Regions from separate parts of the Homo sapiens genome. Here region 1 is linked to region 2. The links are contacts of gene promoters, found by promoter capture Hi-C in human tissues and cell types (Jung and others, 2019). All regions are on one chromosome and are shown on one strand. The core of a region is centred on a gene start or on the middle of the fragment in contact, and the rest is flanking DNA. Distances in the headings are between cores, read along the strand shown.

Region 1 (5,828 bases), core at 1,185-3,684, 540 kb after region 2:
ATGTATCAACATCAAAGTCATCTTTGACTCCTGCATCTTGCGTTGGTCACTATGACTTGTTACTGAATCAGCCTCTAAAATATTTCTCAATTCTTCCCTTCTCTCTAGCCCTCACTTTCTATGCTAGTCTTCTAATGACTTCCCCAGACTTGCATCCTGCATTTGGTCTTCCACTGGCTTCCCCAGAGCCAGTGATCATTCTAAGATGTGTGTTTGACATATTACACCACAGGGTAAAATCCTTACATTCCAAACCCCTTAGCACAACTCACAAAGCCCTCTAAGACCTGCCTCAGTCTACCACTCCAGGCATATGGTTGGTCATTCCCAGCTTCACAGCCTGCTTTCAAGCCATGCCAAACTTATTACTCTTTCCCAGACATGCTGAGCTTTCTCATGGTGAGCATCTAAACCTAGAATGCTCTTGCCTATCTAGTCAGTCAGCTGAACCCACTTATCCTTCAATTCTCATTTCTAATGTCAACTCTTCTGGAGAGACATCTCCAACTCTACCCCAAACAAGGATTGTCTGTCTTTCTTCTGTGGTCTCAAATTACATATGCCCTTACTGTAGCACTTTTCATGTTACATTGTAAATGTATGCTTGTATATGCCTACTCCACTAACTATAAGATTTTCAGGATTGGAATTTGCCTTATTAAATTTTAATCTGAAAACTTCAGTGACTGGCACCTAAAATGAAACCTTCAGACTTTTTAATTATATAGGCTATCCTTAATTCTTTTAAGGATTTTTGCCTTGGCAAAAATTTACTAATTACTAATATTTTTTCCTCTAACAGCCAATTTTTTTCTCAGCCTAATTTTTAAATTATTTCTTTTTAGTAATGTAATGATTTATCTTAATTTAAAAGGCCAAGAGTAATAAAAAGTTATAACAAGATATCAGAAACAGACATCTGACCCTAGTTTACAACACCCCTTCTTAACATACACACTTTCCAGAGCCACTCGTTTCTAAATAGTGTGAGTACACTGCTGTACTTTGAGCTATCAATTTTAGATAATACACTGACCTTCTGTCATGCGGAGGGTTTTAGCTTCTTTATAGTCCATTTCCTTTTCCAATATTGTTCTGTCACAATGTTAGTCAAATTCTTATGCAGTGATTTTAAAATTTATGATGTTAATATTGTTCCTGTCTGTGCCAAGTTGTGTACAGGATTACATGCCCTTTCTTGTACAACTTTTTGTTTTTCCTCAAGTTAATGTTTGCCTCAATTTTTTTCATTTGATTATTATTTTTTCTTGAACAGCTGGCTAAATCATCTCATATCCTGCAACAGTCCTACAAATGCCTCTCTCAATATTGTCAAATAAGCTTTCAGTTCTATTCCATCCTCCTGCTCCAATTTGAAATGTGGCTCCCTCAGCCCTATCCTCCTGGATATTTTCTTGACTTTTCTCTTCTGCAGGTGCCCCTGGTTCCCAGCTCACTTATCTTATTATTTCTTAGTTTACACTCGCATTTTTTGTTAGTACATACTACAGTAGCTTTCTGAGAAAGGATGAAGTTTTGAAAAATTTTATGTCTCAAACAATCTTAAATCATTGTCCTAGCACTTGTCTTGGTGTGGCAGTTTTGTTGGCAAAGATGGCTACAATAATTCCTCCCACCCCTTGTATTCCCGCCATTTTCCAATATGACTTTGCCACTTCTCCTGTCACAAAGTGAAGTCTATCTCTCCACTCCTTGAGTTCGGGAGGCTTTGTGACTTGCTTTGACCAATAGAATATGGTGGAAGTGGCATTGTGTGACTTCTGAAACTAGGCCTCAAGAGACATTACGGCATCTCCTTTCACACTCTTGGAATATTGGCCTGGGACTACCATGTGAAGAGGCCAGATCTAGCCTAGGAAACCTGGTAAAGAAATTGCTACTGAAGACTGGAAAAAAAATGGTTACCTGAGTTATGCAGCAATTAAACAATTGACAGGACAATTGCCTAGAGTAATTTGGAAGATAGAAAATGTAACTAATGAGTTTATAAACTTGGCTAAGGAGATCTTTAGTCAGTATGTTGGAAGTATCTGTTGGGTACCTGTAGCTGCATATTACAATGAATTCTGTTTGCAAACAGAGTGAGTAGTTAAAATTTGCTGGGTTATAAAATAAACAATTTCTCACCCCCAGTTTCTCCAGTTAGTAAAAGACCTTCACAGTAAGAAATAATCTTGGTAAAGATCAGTTTAAAAATGTGGTTGTAGGCCAGACGCAGTGGCTCACACCTGTAATTCCCAGTGTGGGGAATTCCCAGTGTGGGAAATTCAACCACATTTTTGAGGCAGGAGGATTGCTTGAGCCCAGGAGTTCAAGGTTATAGTGGGCTATGATCATACCACTGCACTCCAGCCTGAGAGACAGAGCAAGACCCCATAGCTATGAAAAAAAAATGTTGAAATTCAGTTGTAAGACACTTTGTTACAGTCTCAGAGAGATTTAAGGTAGTGCCTAGCAGATCTTCTCATTTATACAAAAGAGCTTCTAAGAATCTTAAGGGTGTTGTTCCACAGCAGCATGACATGCCCAGAGGAGGAAGGATTATGTGTATAGTGTTTGGCACATGGAGTAAACCCTAGTAAGACTGATAGAAAATCCACAACATTTTTCAGATAGTTGTATTTATGAAAGCACTGTCAGCTTAGGCTAAAAGGGACTGAGATTGTTCAAAATAAAAAGAAACTTATGGAACTCCAACCTGAAATGGATAAGAAGCAGACAAACATAAAGAAGAATGAAATCATGTCCTTTGCAGCAACTTGGATTGAGCTAGAGGCCATTATCCTAAGTGAAATAACCCAGAAAAAGAAAATCAGATACCACATATTCTCACTTGTGAGAGCTAAACAGTGGGCACTCATGGACATAAAGATGGAAATAATAGGCACTAGGGACTCTAAAAGGGGAAGAGGAAGGAGGCAAAGGTTGAAAAGCTACCTATTTTGTTTACTGAATACCATCTCAATACTGTATTCACTGTTTGGGTGATGGTTTCACTAGAATCCCAAACCTCAACATTATGCAATATACCCACATAACAAAACTGTACCTGAATTAATAATAAAATAAAACTAAAGACCAGGCGTGGTGGCTTACACCTGTAATCCCAGCACTTTGGGAGGCTGAGGCAGGTGGATCTCCAGGTCAGGAGATCAAGACCATCCTGGCTAACACGGTGAAACCCCGTCTCTACTAAAAATACAAAAAATTAGCCGGGCGTGGTGGCAGACGCCTGTAGTCCCAGCTACTAGGGAGGCTGAGGCAGGAGAATGGCGTGAACCCAGGAGGTGGAGCTTGCAGTCAGCCGAGATCATGCCACTGCACTCCAGCCTGGGCAACAGAACGAGACTCCGTCTCAAAAAAAAAAAAAAAAAAACTAAAATTAATTAAAAAAAAAAAACTAAAGTAAGAAAGTTTCTCTGCTGCAAACACGGCAGCCATTACCTTTGGAAAAGGAAGGTTCTATCAGAGCATGGGAACTAAGGATCGTGGGGAACAAAAAACTTGGAAACCATCCCAGGAAGCAGAACTGGGCCGTAGTCTCCTGGAGTAAGAGAAACTGGCAACATGTGTCTGGCTGGAGTTCAGCATTGCTATGAATCAATGACTGCTGTGTGTCTTCCAATCTGTCTATTTTTTATTTTATTATTATTATTATTGAGATGGGTCTCACTCTGTCACCCAGGCTGGAGTGCAGTGGCGTGATCTTGGCTCACAGCAACCTTCACCTCCTGGAGATTCTCGTGCCTCAGCCTCCCAAGTAGTTGGGATTACAAGTGCACACCACTTCACCTATCTAATTTTTGTGTTTTTAGTAGAGGCGGGGTTTCACCAGTTGGCCAGGCTGGTCTCTAACTCCCGGGCTCAAACAACCCACCCACCTCAGCCTCCCAAAGTGCTAGAATCACAGGTGTAAGCCACCACACCTGGCCCCAGTCTGTCTATTTTTAAATGTGAGTGCCTCTTGAAGTTATTCTGTCCCAATTTCACCATTGCATATTGAGTGTGAAAGGGCTATACACTTTGTCTTTTACGGTAACAGGTCTCTGCATCAGAGCAGTTGTACCCGAGGAGAAAGTCCTCATCTGCATGCAGATTCAAATAATGGTTTCCTCACCACTTTCCCAGCCTCTGCCCCCTGCCCAGTCCTAAAACCACTGTCACACAATTTAGGGGTTTGTTATGGTAGCACTCTACTTCTAGGTACCAATTCCTGTTTTATTTAGTCTTTGTTGTATAAGAAACCACTCCAAAATGTAGTAGCTTAAAATAACAACCATTTTATTTTCTTTTGATTCTGTGGATCAGCAATTTGATCTGGTCTCACCTGAGATCGTTCATGTAGTTGCAGTCATCTAGAAGCTTGACTGGGACTGGTGGGACTAAAATAGCCTCCTTCCATGCCTGGTAATGTACGCTGGCTGTCAGCTGGCTGGTCCAGATGGGGGCTTCAGTTAGAATGGTTCATCTCTCCTTGGGTTTCTCATCTAATAGGCTAGACCTGGCTTCTTTACACTGGTAGACTTAGGATAGCATTCTAAGAGGTCAACAGTGGAAGCTGCAAGATCTCTTGAGACCTGGGCTTAGAAATTATGCTGTATCAGTTTTGCTACTCTTTTTTTTTTTTTGGTTGAAATAAGTTAAGATCAGCTTAGATTCAAGAAGTGGGGAAATAGATTCCACTCCCTGATGGGAGAAGTGAAATCACATTGCAAAGAGGTACACGTACCCAGATATGAAGAAATGTTGTAGTCATCTCTGAAACAATATAACACATATGTTATACAATTCTAGGTTAAAATGATTTTTACTCAGAATTTTGAGGCATTGCTTCATTGTCTTCTAATTTTTCTTGTTGCTTTAGACTATTTGTGCTGTGGTATAGCTGGCCCTCTGTGTCTGTGGGCTCTGCATCCATGGAGTCAACCTACACAGATTGGAAATATTCAAAAAAAGAATGAATGCTTGCATCTATACTAAACATGTACAGACTTTTTTTATTTGTCATTATTTCCTAAACAACACAACAGCTATTTACATAACATTTACATGATATTAGATATTATAAGTAATCTACAGATGATTTAAAGTATACAGGAGGATATGCATAGGTTATGTTAAATACTACACCATTTTATGTGAAGGACTTGAGCACCCACGGATTTTGGTATCCAAGGGAGGTCCTGGAACCAAACAACCATGAATATCAAGGGGCAACTGTATAGGTAACTCTACATTGTATAGGTAACTTTTTTCCCCTCTCTCTTTGGAAGCTTTTTGAACCTTCTCATTATTCCCAATATACTGAAATTCCATGATGAGGTGCCCTGGTGGGGATTCTTTTTCATTCATCCTGTTGTCATTTTGTGGATATTACTTAATCCAGAGATCCTGCTCTTTGATGCAGAAATGTTCTTATATCCTGTTTTTGATCATTTCCTCTCCACAGTGTTCTCTGCTTGCTCTTCCTAGAACTCCTATTATTCAGATGTTGGATCACTAAGCAGGTTCTCTAATTTTCTTAACTTTTCTGCCCTGTTCATCTCTCTGATTATTTTCTTCTACTTTTTGGGAAATTTCCTAAACTGTATTTCCTTTTCTTCTACTGAATGTTGTATTGCAGCATTCATGTTTTTACTTTTCAAGAATTCTGTCTTGTTCTGTGATTTTTCTTTTTAAAATATCTTGTTCTTATTTCCAGGATTTCCCTGATATTATTAACCACATTTTCTTTAAAGTTTTCTTCTTTTTGCTGCACTGTTTCTGTACACTTTGGGTTCTTCCTTTCTTCTTTTTCTTTCAGTTTT
Region 2 (6,277 bases), core at 1,038-3,537:
CAGATGATCTGTCCTCTCATGATGGAAACATCAAGGACTAAGAAATCTCTCCATCACATTTCTCTAAATGTTTAGGTGAAGTATTGAAAATCTTTTTTCAATAGTGTGAAAAGAATACCAGATTATAGGTACTTACTTTTTGGTCTTTTTCTATTGAAAATTCTACTATAAAGGCTCTAGGGTGGTCTGGGAAATAATCAATATGACAAAGGAATCAAGATGCAAAGACATGTAACTAAATCAAATGATTAATAACTATCATTATGCTTTTCAGCAAATATTCAGTAACAAATTTACATTTGACATTGCTTACAGTGACATTCTCTATGGAGATTTAAAATGAAAATATCTGAGGCTCGATGTTAACTGGTCATTACGTGGAATAGTCTGAGGGGAAAGGTGACACTAGCAACTTTGCAATTCCTTTCATACATCTGAATTAGATCTTATAGGATATAATCGCCACCATTTTTCCCCTGTACAATTTCAATTCCTCACTATCTATGAGAGGACGAATATTTTACATTAAATGTTGGGAGTCAGAATACAAGAGATAACGGAGTATATATGACTTCTACATAAAATAGGGGGTGATATAACTACATGAGTAAGTGAAAGTACTGGGTGCGAAGACCAAGAGCTTAGGTTCAGTCCATATATCTATTAATACACTTATTCAGTCCCATTGCAATAGCTTGTCCCCCCCCCAAACCATTGATTCTATATTTGAACAGTACCATAGGATGCTATAAGCTAATAACCTTCAAGTATCTCCTCCATCACAAAATTATGTCAATGCAGAAGCAGTGTTTCTTGAGAAAAGACTTATCCCAATTTCCTAACTTCCTAATTCAGCCCAGTTGTCCACAGTGCACATATTCTCTTCTGAAAGGTAAAGGAAAAAATATTTAATTTGCACACTGCACTAGTATGCTTTCATCCACAGTGTATGTACATGATTTCATTTGCTTTTCACCAACCTATCAGAGACAAATGGTAATTATGTCTAGTAAGTGCAAACACTAAACACGAGCAGCACAGAATACAAACATATCCCTCTCTCTACACATGACACTAATCCTAGTAACTCAACAAAGGAGTTGATAACACAGTTTTGTAAGTTTCACTGGGAGCTAAGAAGAATGCCCAGTGATTCTGCCAAAGGTAACAGCAACGCCTCAATTAATGCCATCACCAATCCTAGCAAACACAAAAAGAGCTGCCTCTGCAAGCACTCAGTAACACAGATTGCCGTCCCTCTTTCAAGTAACCCCTCTAAGGAACGTGAAGTAAATTATCAGGACCAAAGCTCAAGCGAGAAGAGTCTACCTACTCCAAGGAAAGAAACACTCCTGTCACACAAACATCTCATCACTGCTGCTGAACTGGTAATACTACCACTGGACTAAAAAGTTCCACTGCTTCTCCACCTCACAACGATCCAAGAACTTCAATGACTGCCAGTGACCCGCACTCCACAAGTAAGTCAACAATACTTCCAGGCACAATGATTCCCATCTTACGCAGTAACCAGCACCACCAGACCACATCCCAGTAACCAAGCTCCACACCTCTCCTAAAACCCCAGTATTAAAATACATCATCACTGGAGGGCCTTTTAAGTCCGAAAGGTCCTGACTTGCTCCTAGCAATGCAGACTAAAGACAATCCTAAATCAAAACAAAAAGGCTCCCTGTCCAGCCAACACCGACTCCTCCCTCAACTTCGAGCTAGCTCCGCACACTCAAGTCAGCCTGGGGGCACTCTGACAGGGTGGGCAGAGGGACCTCGGAGGGCCATCTCAGCCCTGGACTGAGCCTGGACTCAAGGCTATCTTTCTCGAGCTCACCGGTAGTGAGCGCTGGGAAGCATCTGAGCCGTGTCCCCACACCTGCAGACAGTACCAGTCTCTCGGCCACCTAACACCCAAGCAAGGGGAGAGCCCAGCACCTAGACTGGGGCCGAGCAGCACGTCCCCATCCCCGGGGTTAGTTCGGAGCTTCTCCTCCGCTCTCGGACTGCCACGCGACGGCTCGCCCCTCGCCGTCCCGTGGAGGGCGCCGGCGCCCCCTGTCAGGCGGGCAAAGGATACAGTCCCGGCTCCAGAACGCCGCGGCACTGGGGCGGGAGGGGCCCGCCACGTCCGCCATCTTGAAACAACCGCCACTCGGGGCGTCGCGCCTGGGCCGCCACGCCTCGGCCTGCAGGCTCGGTCCCCATTGGCCGCACCACGCAGAGGCCCGCCCCCGCCTGCGCGGCCGGCCCCTGCGGGGCGAGAGGGTGGGGGCGAAGGGGAAGCTACGTCCCGGAGGTGCGGTGTGGGGCACCGGGCGGGGCCGCGGGAACCGGCGCCCCACGGAGCTGCTGCTGTCAGACCAACCCCGGGCCCCCATCATCACTGCGCCGCGCTTTCAGGCGCCGAGAACTACCGTTCCCGGCATGCCATGAAATTGGCCTCGGCGCTGAGGCGGGGTCCGGCCCTCCACCCGCTCCCGCCGCGCGCGAATCGCGGTCGCGAGCCATGGAGGAGGAGGCATCGTCCCCGGGGCTGGGCTGCAGCAAGCCGCACCTGGAGAAGCTGACCCTGGGCATCACGCGCATCCTAGGTGAGGAAAGGGGGCACGGTGCCGAGAGGGTGTGGAGGAGAAGGAAGGAGGAGCGGAGGGATGAGGTGCGGGGTGAGCGGTGCGACGCTGGCCCCAGAACAGGAGTGGACATCGCTGCTGGGACTTCCGTTGTTACAGAGGAAAGTGGGGGACCTGGGTTTGTGATTAGGCCTTGAAAGTGTTTGCCAGGAGTGTTCGGAGGCAGAGCTGGGAAGCCTGAAGTTTCCCCCACTCACCGCCAACCAAGGTCCCACCCAGGAAGGACGGGCAGAGACGTGCAAAGGGAACACAGCAAGCACCTGACGGTTGGGAAGTTGGATCTCCCCCTAGGAGGCATTCTCAGCCAGGGCATTATCCCCGAAACCCAAGACCTTTCTCTGGGGGAAGTAATGCACCCGACCTCCCAGGGCGACAACTACGTCGGGTCTGAAAGGAATCCAACCTTGCACCACTGAATGACTCAGAGTTTTTCTTTTATCGAACATTTCTTTGTTTGCTTGCTTGTTTGTATTTTGAGACAGAGTTTTGCTCTTGTTGCCCAGGCTGGAGTGCAATGGCGCGATCTCGGCTCACTGCAACCTGCGCCTCCTGGGTTCAAGCAATTCTCCTGCCTCGCCCAGCTATTTTTTTGTATTTTTAGTAGAGACAGGGTTCCACCATGTTGGCCAGGCTGGTCTCGAACTCCTGACCTCAGGTGATCCACCCGCCTCGACCTCCCAAAGTGCTGGAATTACAGGCGTGAGCCACCGCGCCTGGCCTATCAAACGTTTCTTTAGTACTCACCACTATGTTAGACGTGAGGTTAAAAATATGAAAAAGACACAGTTCTGTGAAAAAAATAAACAAATGAGGTCACTAGGAGTGTGAAAAGAGGTCAGTAATCTGTTACTCAGAGATGTCACAGAGGAGGGGACTGATCTTACCAGGGAAGTTAAAGAACATGTCACAGAGGAGATGATGCTAGATTTTGAAAGACATATAGGAGTTAGCCAGAAAACTAAGGAGGAGAAAGGTCTTTTAAGAAGGCTGAAAAGCATGCTTCAGTGCCTTCCCATCACAATTATAATAAAATCCAAATGTCTGTACCATGACCCACAAGTCCCTGTAAGATCTGCTCTCATCTCTTTCTGACTTTGTTTCCACTCTTGCCCACATGGCCTTCTAGCTGTACCTTAAACACACTAAGCGGGTTCCTGCTTCAGGGCTTTTGCAGTTTGCTAGTCCTTGCACCTGGAATTATCTTTCTCTGAATGTCTCGCTTCTTCAGGTCATTCAGATCTCTGATCAAATGTCATTATTTCAGAGAAACCTTCCCTGAATATAGTTCGAATAACCGCCGTCTTTCTTGCTCTCTCTTTCCTTACCCTGCTTTTTCTTTTATTCTTATAGCACTTTCACTACTTGAAATTATGTATTTGTTTGGTTGATTTTTAAAATTTGTGTCTCTTTTAATAGAAGTCCAAGACCAAGTGTGATTTAGGAATGAGTGGTTTTAACATATGAAAATCAATTAATAGCTGGGCATGGTGGCCCATGTCTTTAGTTCCAGCTACTGGGGAGGCTGTGGTGGGAGGGTTATTAGAGCCCAGTTCAAGTCCAGCTGGACAACATAGCAAGACCCTGTCACTAAAAAAAAAGAAACTTAAAAAAAATCAATTAATATAATACAACTTACTAATAGAATAAGACAAAAACTGCATAATCATCTTAATAAAAAAAGCATTTGACAAAATCTAACCTTTCTTGATTAAAAAAAACTCAACAAACTAGAAATAGGATGGGATAGAGATAGAATTTCCTCAACCTGATGAAGGACATCTATGAAAAACCCACATCTAACATCATATGTAATGGTGAAAGACTGGCAGCTTTCCCCTTAAAATCAGGAACAAAAATTGTATTAGGGTTCCCCAAGATCACACCAGATTCAATGATTTGACGCAAGGATTACAGGACTCAGGAGATAGTCCTACTCATGGCTATGATTCATTACAACAAAAGGATTTTGGCAGCCCGATTGGCAGACCTTTCTGAGGATTATTGTCTCGGGCCTGCTATGTTCACTCTTTTCTGCATGGCAAGAATTCCACTTTTATCACTTCTCTTCAACATTGTACTGGAGTTTCTAGCTAGGGCAATTAGGCAAGAAAATGAAATAAAGACATCCAATTGAAAAGGAAGAAGGTAAGCTATCTGTTTGCAGATGACATGATCTTGTATATAAAAAATCCTAAGGAATCCACACACACACACACACACACACACACACACACACACAGCCTATACACCAGCAATGAACAATCCAAAAATAAAACTAAGAACAATTCAATTTACAATAGTATTGAAAAGAATAAAATGTAGCTGGCACAGTGGCTCACACCTGTAATCCCAACACTGGGAGGCCAAGGTGAGAGGATTGCTTGAGACCAGGAGTTGCAGACCAGCCTGGGCAACATAGCCTTTATGAAATATTTTAAAATTAGCCATGTGTGGTGGTGCATGCCTTAGTCCTAGCTACTCAGGAGGCTGAGATAGGAGGATTGCTTGAGCCCAGGAGTTCGAGGCTACAGTGACCTGTGATCACACCACAGCACTCCAGCCCGGGCAACAAGAGTGAGACCCTATCTCAAAAAAAATAAAAGAATAAAATAGGAATAAATTAACACAAGATGTCCATGACTTATGTACTGAAAATTACATAAGACTGTGGAAAGAAATTAAAGAAGACCAAAATAAATGAGAAGACATACCATGTTTATGGATTGGAAGAGTTAATATTGTTAAAATCTGTTACTCCCCAAATTGATCTACAAATCTCACATCTCCAGTTCCCATCAAAATCTCAACTGTCTCTTTTGTAGAAATCAGGAAGCTAATTTAATCCTAAAATATAATATAGAAATGCAAGAGACCCAGAGTAGCCAAGATAAACTTTTCTTTCCAAAACAGGAAAAAAGTTCCTCTTACTCACATTTCCCTATACTATATTTGAGATGATGGAAAAGTTCTGGTGATGGTTGTACAACAGTGTGAATGTACTTTATGCCACTTAACTGTACACTTAAAATTGACTAAAATGATGATTTTATGTTATGTGTATTTTAATACAATTTAAAAAATTTAAAGCCACAGTTGTCTTCAGAGTGGTAGTGGCATAAAACTAGAAATGTAGATCAATGAAATAAGATTGAGAGTCCAAAAATAAACATCATATTTATGATTCATTGATTTTTTTTTTTTTTTTTTTTTTGGAGACGGAGTCTCGCTCTGTCGCCCAGGCTGGAGTGCAGTGGTGTGCTCTTCACTCGCTGCAAGCTCCGCCTCCCGGGTTCTAGCCATTCTCCTGCCTCATCCTCCCGGGCAGCTGGGACTCCAGGCGCCCACCACCACGCCTGGCTAATTTTTTGTATTTTTAGTAGAGACAGGGTTTCACCATGTTAGCCAGGATGGTCTCGATCTCCTGACCTCATGATCCACCTGCCTCGGCCTCCCAAAGTGCTGGGATTACAGGTGTGAGCCACCGTGCCCGGCCTGATTCATTGATTTTTGACAAATATGTTAAGACTTCTCAATGGGAAAAAATAGTTTTTCAACAAATGGTTCTGGATTTCCACATGTAAAATAATGAAATTGGACCTCTACCTCAAATTATATACAAAAATTAACTCCAA

Evidence for each region. Contacts are between HindIII fragments. The study calls those that stand out against the background at their distance.
Region 1: a contact is called between a fragment that was not itself captured here and the fragment with the promoter of TPGS2 in region 2, in 1 of the 25 tissues and cell types used here (IMR-90 fibroblasts).

The regions. Positions count from the first base shown.
Region 1 is chr18:36,288,567-36,294,394 of GRCh38, reverse strand. No RefSeq gene overlaps it. Among named protein-coding and RNA genes, the nearest start is that of FHOD3, 6.2 kb to the left of the region's middle. The HindIII fragment of the contact is 4,811 bases long and covers 29-4,839 here.
Region 2 is chr18:36,825,012-36,831,288 of GRCh38, reverse strand. It overlaps TPGS2 (tubulin polyglutamylase complex subunit 2), which reads left to right and starts at 2,287. Exons shown (of 7, transcript NM_015476.4): 1 at 2,287-2,606. The coding sequence starts at 2,522. It overlaps KIAA1328, which reads right to left and starts at 2,162. Exons shown (of 10, transcript NM_020776.3): 1 at 2,093-2,162. The coding sequence starts at 2,150. RefSeq lists a silencer at 1,928-2,527 and enhancers at 1,925-2,717, 2,818-2,927. The HindIII fragment of the contact is 11,405 bases long and covers 1-6,277 here.